2 separate regions of the Homo sapiens genome follow, and region 2 is linked to region 1. The links are contacts of gene promoters, found by promoter capture Hi-C in blood cells and fetal thymus (Javierre and others, 2016). All regions are on one chromosome and are shown on one strand. The core of a region is centred on a gene start or on the middle of the fragment in contact, and the rest is flanking DNA. Distances in the headings are between cores, read along the strand shown.

The links. The method cuts DNA at HindIII sites, captures the fragments that hold promoters and counts their contacts. A CHiCAGO score of 5 or more calls a contact.
Region 2: the fragment with the promoter of DPEP3 here is called in contact with a fragment that was not itself captured in region 1 in 1 of 17 cell types (fetal thymus); the score reaches 5.1 in fetal thymus.

The regions. Positions count from the first base shown.
Region 1 is chr16:68,327,080-68,330,437 of GRCh38, forward strand. PRMT7 (protein arginine methyltransferase 7) reads left to right here. Exons shown (of 19, transcript NM_019023.5): 6 at 1,987-2,095. It also overlaps the pseudogene RNU4-30P. Among named protein-coding and RNA genes, the nearest start is that of PRMT7, 18 kb to the left of the region's middle. The HindIII fragment of the contact is 1,093 bases long and covers 1,029-2,121 here.
Region 2 is chr16:67,978,852-67,982,209 of GRCh38, forward strand. DPEP3 (dipeptidase 3) reads right to left here and starts at 1,648. Exons shown (of 10, transcript NM_001370198.1): 1 at 1,243-1,648; 2 at 788-914. The coding sequence starts at 1,529. RefSeq lists an enhancer at 972-1,472. The HindIII fragment of the contact is 6,110 bases long and covers 1-3,358 here.

The DNA of each region.
Region 1 (3,358 bases), core at 325-2,824:
TGTAAATACTGCGCGCTAATCAATTGCACAACTGGAGCTGCTCACGTAAGTACTCTTTACGAAAGGATACAGCATTTGTCCCTTGATTATAGTAAAAAATATAGTATTCATGGTAGAAAATGTGGGAAATACAGAAAAGGATTTAGAAAAAAGGAAAATCTTATCAGGAACAGTCTCGGTATCATTTTGTGGTTTCCACTTCGTGTGTAGGGCCACACGTGAGTCTGTTTGTTTTACATGCTAGAGCTCTTGGGGCTGTGGAATCTAGACTGGATAAGTTGAAAACAAAGAGTTGGAGGTGCTTATTTATGTTCAGGGAAACTCGAAGAGTTCAGGGAAGACTTCTGGATGGGGGATTCATGCTGCCCTGGGAAGTGGGGTTTGATTTGGCAGGTGGGGCCAGGATAGGGAAGGCTCAGTGATCATGAGATCATTGTGGCTGGAGTGTTGGTTGTTGGGGGAATGGGGGAGGAAGACTGGGAAGGTAAGGGAGGGCCTCCAAAGCAGTAGTTTCCCCTTATCTATGGTTTCACTTTTCGTGATTTCAGTTACCTGTGGTCAACTGAGGTCCAAAAATACTAAATGGAGCCAGGTGCGGTGGCTCACGCCTGTAATCCCAGCACTTTGGGTGGCTGAGACAGGTGGAAACCTTGAGTCCCAGAGTTGGAGACCAGCCTGGGCAACATGGCAAAACCCCGCCTCTACAAAAAGTAGCTGGGCATGGTGATCTACGCCTGTAGTCCCAGCTACTTGGGAGATTGAGGTGGGAAATTGCTTGAGCCTGGGAGGTGGAAGCTGCAGTGATCATGCCACTGGACTCCAGCCTGGACAATAGAGTGAGACCCTTCTCAAAAAAAAAAAAAAGAAAAATTAAATGGAAAATTCCAGAAATTATTTATAAGTTGTAAGTTGTGTACCATTCTGAGTATTATTACATAATTGTTCTATTTTTAGTTATTGTTAATTTATAAATTATTATTTATATTTATTATTGTGCCTAATTTATAAATTAAACCTGGTCATAGGTAAGCTTGGAGGCTGAAGCAGCTCCACTGTGAATGCTAATCCTCCACGCTGACTTCTGACCAACCCCAGCTTCAGGAATGCCTCTAAAATTTCCGCTCTCATGCACTTTGATGTAAATCCTGCCCTCAGGTCAGAACAACTTTGATGTTATCATAAATACATACTTACCGTAAATCCTGCCCTTCGTCAAATTCCCTGTGGTATGTAAGCCCTGCGTCTGAGCCATAACAGTGTGGGGGCCCAGTTTCTCACTGCCCGAGACAAGGCTTCTGTTTGTATGTCTCTATAAAGTGTGTCTTTCTGAGAAGCTGGATTTGCCAGTCTTTCCTCAGCCTCTCAGCTCCCGTGGCCTGTTGGGGTAGGTTTGCATAGAGCTGCCCACCATGGAACAGTATGTATGTATAGCAAAAAAAAAAAAAAAAAAAAAATGGTATACATAAGGGTCAGTACTGTCTGAGGTTTCAAGCATCCACCAAGGGTCTTAAAATGTATCCCCCATGGACAAGAGGCACTGCTGCACCATAAGAAAATAGAGGCTGTGTTCTGCCAACAGTGGGGATTTGGGACAATTTTGAGCCCAGAGGATGACCTACTTACTCACACCTACAGTCTGCTCTCCTCTGGAGGGCACAGCACGCCTCCCAGGTTCGTGAGGCAAGTCCCTTTCCTGGCTTTTTGGCGTCCTCTTGTGCGGTACTGACACCTACTGCTCTTACTAAGTAGTGCAGCCTCCTCAGGATCCCCGGCATCCCCGCTGTGCCTGGCACGGAATGAGAGTCCCTAATCACAAGTTAAAGCCAGCTGAATCTCAGCCCTTTTTCATGATGCACATTTGGAGAATAAAGTATTTAAGTTACATATCTTAGGACCAGAATCAAGGAATAGCTTGCTCACCTTAAAGGTCAGACTACTGTTTAATTTATTGCTCATTTTTCCTTGGGTTTCGGCTCTATTTTCTAGGTTTTCAAGCCTATGGCTGATGCTGCTGTGAAGATTGTGGAGAAAAATGGCTTTAGTGATAAGATTAAGGTTATCAACAAGCATTCCACCGAGGTGACTGTAGGTCCAGGTGAGATTTACACACCCTGTGTTGAAAGCTTTGCTTGCTCTTGTGTGAGAGAGGAAAAGGGTTATTCCAGTTACCTGGAACAAATCCAGGTCATAGCATAGAAGTGGGACCTCTCTGTGTGGAGCTCTGACAGTAAGGACTTGGTTTCTCTTGATGTTTATTTTCCTGCTAGTTAAAACTAGTCAACAAGGAGTAGACTAGAGCTAGTCAGGTCCAGCAATGGAGACGCAAACAAAACCTACATTTGCTTTAAGCAAATTGGAATTCTTATGGGGCTCAACTCTTGAGTTTCAACTACCAATAATTACGCCTTGGATAAACCTCATTGGCTACGATACTGCCACTGCTCAAAGCTCAACTCTGAGTTTCATCAGGCAGAAAGTACTTAGTTCTTTTATTTATTTATTTTTTTGAGAGAGAGTCTCACTCTGTCGCCCAGGCTGGAGTGCAGTGGCGCTATCTTGCCTCACTGCAAGCTCTGCCTCCTGGGTTCACCCATCCTGGCTAACACGGTGAAACTCTATCTCTACTAAAAATACAAAAAATTAGCCAGGCATGGTGGTGGGCACCTGTAGTCCCAGCTACTGGAGAGGCTGAGGCAGGAGAATGGCGAGAGTAGTTCTGACATTCTGCTTCTGCATACAACATGAACAATTTTCCTGTATAGCATTGTCTCTTAAGGTTTCCAGAATATGTATATGTACACACACACACACACACACACATATTTTTTTTTTGAGACGGAATCTCACTGTGTCACCCAGGCTGCATTGCAGTGGTGCAATCTTGGCTCACTGCATCCTCCACCTCCTGGGTACAAGTGATTCTCCTGCCTCAGCCTCCCAAGTAGCGGTGATTACAGGTGCCTGCCACCACACCTGGCTGCTTTTTGTATTTTTAGCAGAGACGGGGTTTCACCATGTTGGCCAGGCTGGTCTTGAACCCCTGACCTCAGGTGATCCGCCTGCCTCAGCCTCCCAAAGTGCTAGGATTATAAGCGTGAGCCACCATGCCTGGCCTCCAGAATATTTTTTATAGTCTAGAACTTTGTTTCAGTCTTTGAAAATTTCACATGCCACTGACACTTAGAGAACATAGTTGAAAGATTTGCAAAGGAAAAACTGTGGTGAAGTTATGGATAACACCATGGGTTTTTTCTAATTTTTTGTGGAGATAGGGTCTTACTATGTTGCCCAGGCTGGACTCAAACTCTTATGCTAAAGTGATCCTCCCATCTCAGCGACCCAAGTACCTGGGACTACA
Region 2 (3,358 bases), core at 398-2,897, 350 kb before region 1:
TGTGATCATGGCTCACTGCAGCCTTGACCCCCCAGGCTCAAACAATCCTCCTGCCTCAGCCTCCCAAAGTGTTGGCATTACAGATGTGAACTACCGAGCCTGGTTCCTTGATGACTGTTTGCTGCCAGCAGTCAAATGATGGACTCACGACACATCATAAATTACTGTTACGGCCAGGCCAAGTGGCTCATGCCTGTAATCTCCACACTGTGGGAGGCCGAGGAGGGTGGATCATGTGAGGTCAGGAGTTCGAGACCAGCCTGGCCAACATGGTAAAACCCTGTCTCTACTAAAACTACAAAAATTAGCAGGGCGTGGTGGCGAGTGCCTGTAATCCCAGCTACTCAGGAGGCTGAGGCAGGGAGAATTGCTTGAACCCGGGAGGCGGAGGTTGCAGTGAACCGAGATCGTGCCACTGTACTCCAGCCTGGGCGACAGAAGGAGACACTGTCTCAAAAATGCAAACAAACAAACAAGCAAAAAACTGCTGTTAGTCCATGTGCTATGTGAATGCCCCAAGGCCAATCCACTATGTCCTTTGTGGTTACGGCAGACCCCACACTCACCAGGGATTTTCTGGTCATTTTCTGCGTGTTTCCACAGAACCTGGGCATACATGCAGCTAGCCTGTCTTGGCCTCCAAGGCCCCACTCTCCTTAGAAACCACATGATGGCACACTGCATGCCCCATTGTATTTAGTCACCCAGAGGCTGGCTGACCCAGGTTTCTGTGACCCCAACATCCCCCAGCAGCCATGCTGTGGCACCCTGTGTGTCCCTGTGGTACCTGGGCACCCACGAGGCCGTCTCTAAGCCTGTCCAGGCTGGTCTGACCATGGCTGAAATTTCGCAGGTTAACATCCTGAAGCACATTCTTGTAACGCTGTCTCAGGACCTGGGGCAGGTCATTGTGGCTGGGGGTGTGAAGGTCAGATGGAAACACCGCCTCCAGATCAGTCAGGATATATCAGGTGCTTGGGTCTACCCTCCTCCACCCCACCAGGCACCTCCTCACACAGACCATATAGAGACCTCCTGAGGTTGGGTTGGAGGGAGGGGGTTAGATTCCACCAGGAATGGAGTAATGCGGGGAAGGGCACCCATGGGTGATGGAGGAGAGAGGGCATCCAGGGGTGGTGTGAGGGAGCCTCCTTGATAGCCTCCTTGATAGCATGCTCAGAACCTCCTCTCCTGCCCAAGGGTGTGCTCACCCCGCGTTGCCCAAACGCTGCACCTACATACCCGTCCACGAGTGGGAAACTCCGCATCAGGGCCTGCGCGCGACCCCGAAGGTCCAGGGTTTTGGGGGTGCCTGGCGTAGTGAGGCCTGGGGTAGTGAGGGCGCTGGGGACACCCGGCGTGGTGAAGAGGCTGGGGGAGCCCAGCGTGGAGAGGGCTCTGGGGGCGCCCGGCGTGGTCTCCGCGCGGGTTACGGGCTGCCGCAGCAGCAGCAGCAGTAGCAGGAGCAGCAGACGCCGCAGATACCGCCGGCTGAGCGCGCGGGAACCCTCGCGGCCCGTGGGCTGCATGTTGCGCGGGGGTCGGCCGCGGGAGCCTGGGAGGAGCAGGCGATGGGCAGAGGCCGACAATGGGGTCCGGATCATGACGACCCAGCCTCCCGAAGAGGGGGTTGAAGTCACGCGACTCTGAGACCGACGCGCCACGCAAGGGGGCGCCACGGCTTTTCCGCCCCCAAGCAGGAGAGCGCCCCCATGGGCCGGAACCGCCGCTGCAGCGTCGAGGACTCCTCGCCCTTCCACCCCCAGCGCTGGCTCCGTAGACCCCCACACGAGTGGGGGAGGAGGCCAGGCAGGGAACTAGTAGGGGCCCAGGGATCTTCCTGATCTCACCTCCTACCCAGGCCCACGTGGCGGTTAGCTGCCGGCTTGTGCCCAGCTCCTAGGCAGGTCAAATATTCTAAGCTGCGACTCAGAAGAGTTAATTCGGTCTGTCTGGTTTGATGGACAGAAAGATTCCCTATAGGTATTTCATTTCATTTCATTTCATTTCATTTCATTTCATTATTTCATTTCATCTCATTTCAGTTTTGAGACGGAGTTTGGGTCTTGTTGCCCAGGCTGGAGTGCAATGATGCAGTCTCGGCTCACTGCAACCTCCACGTCCCGGGTTCAAGCCATTTTCCTGCCTCAGCCTCCCGAGTAGCTGGGATTACAGGTGCCCGCCACCATGCCCAGCTAATTTTTGTATTTTCAGTAGAGATGGGGTTTTACCATGTTGGCCAGGCTGGCCTTGAACTCCTGACCTCAAGTGATCCTCCTGCCTCGACCTCCCAAAGTGCTGGGATTACAGGCGTGAGCCACCGTGCCCGGCCCCGAAAATGAAATTTAAGAACAATTTTTGTTGGGGATCATTATTTTAGCTTTTTTTCCTTCTCCAAGAGACAGAGTATCTGTCACCCAGGCTGGAGTTGCAGTGGGGTGATCATAGCTTGCTGCAGCCTTGATCATAGCTTGCTGCAGCCTTGAACTTCTGAGCTCAAGCGATCCTCCTTCCTCCACCTCCCAAGTAGCTGAGACTATAGGTGCAGTGCCACCATGCATGGCTAATTGTTATTTTTTATTTTATTAAAACAAATTTTTTTTTGAGACAGGGTCTCACTGGAGTGCAGTGGCACCATCTCAGCTCACTGTAGCCTCGACCTCCCAGGTAAAAGTGATCCTCCTGCTTCAGCTCCCTAAGTAGCTGGGAGGGACTACAGGCATGCACCACCATGCCCAGCTAATTTTTGTATATTTGCATTTTTTTTTAGAGACAGGGTTTTACCATGTTGCCCAGACTGGTCTTGAACTCCTGAGCTCAAGCGATCTGCCCACCTAGGTCTCCCAAAGTGCTAGGATTACAGGCATGAGCCACCACGTCCGGCCTTATTTCTTTTTTAGAGACGTGGTTTTTTTTTTGAGACGGAGTCTCACTGTGCCACCCAGGCTGGAGTGCAGTGGCTCCATCTCTGCTCACTGCAAGCTCCGCCTCCCGGGTTCATGCCAGTCTCCTGCCTCAGCCTCCCGAGTAGCTGGGACTACAGGCGCCCACCACCATGCCCAGCTAATTTTTTGTATTTTTAGTAGAGACCGGGTTTCACCGTGTTAGCCAGGATGGTCTTGATCTCCTGACCTCGTGATCCGCCCACCTTGGCCTCCCAAAGTTCCGGGATTACAGGCGTGAGCCACCGCACCGGGCCGAATATTTTTTTCTATATATATGTTAGTATACAGACACAAAAATGAGAGGTGACAGCGTGCTGGCAGCCCTCACAGCCCTCGCTCCCTCTCGGCACCTCCTCGGCCTTGGCGCCCACTCTGGCCGCGTTTGAGGAGCCCTTCAGCCCGTCGCTGCACTG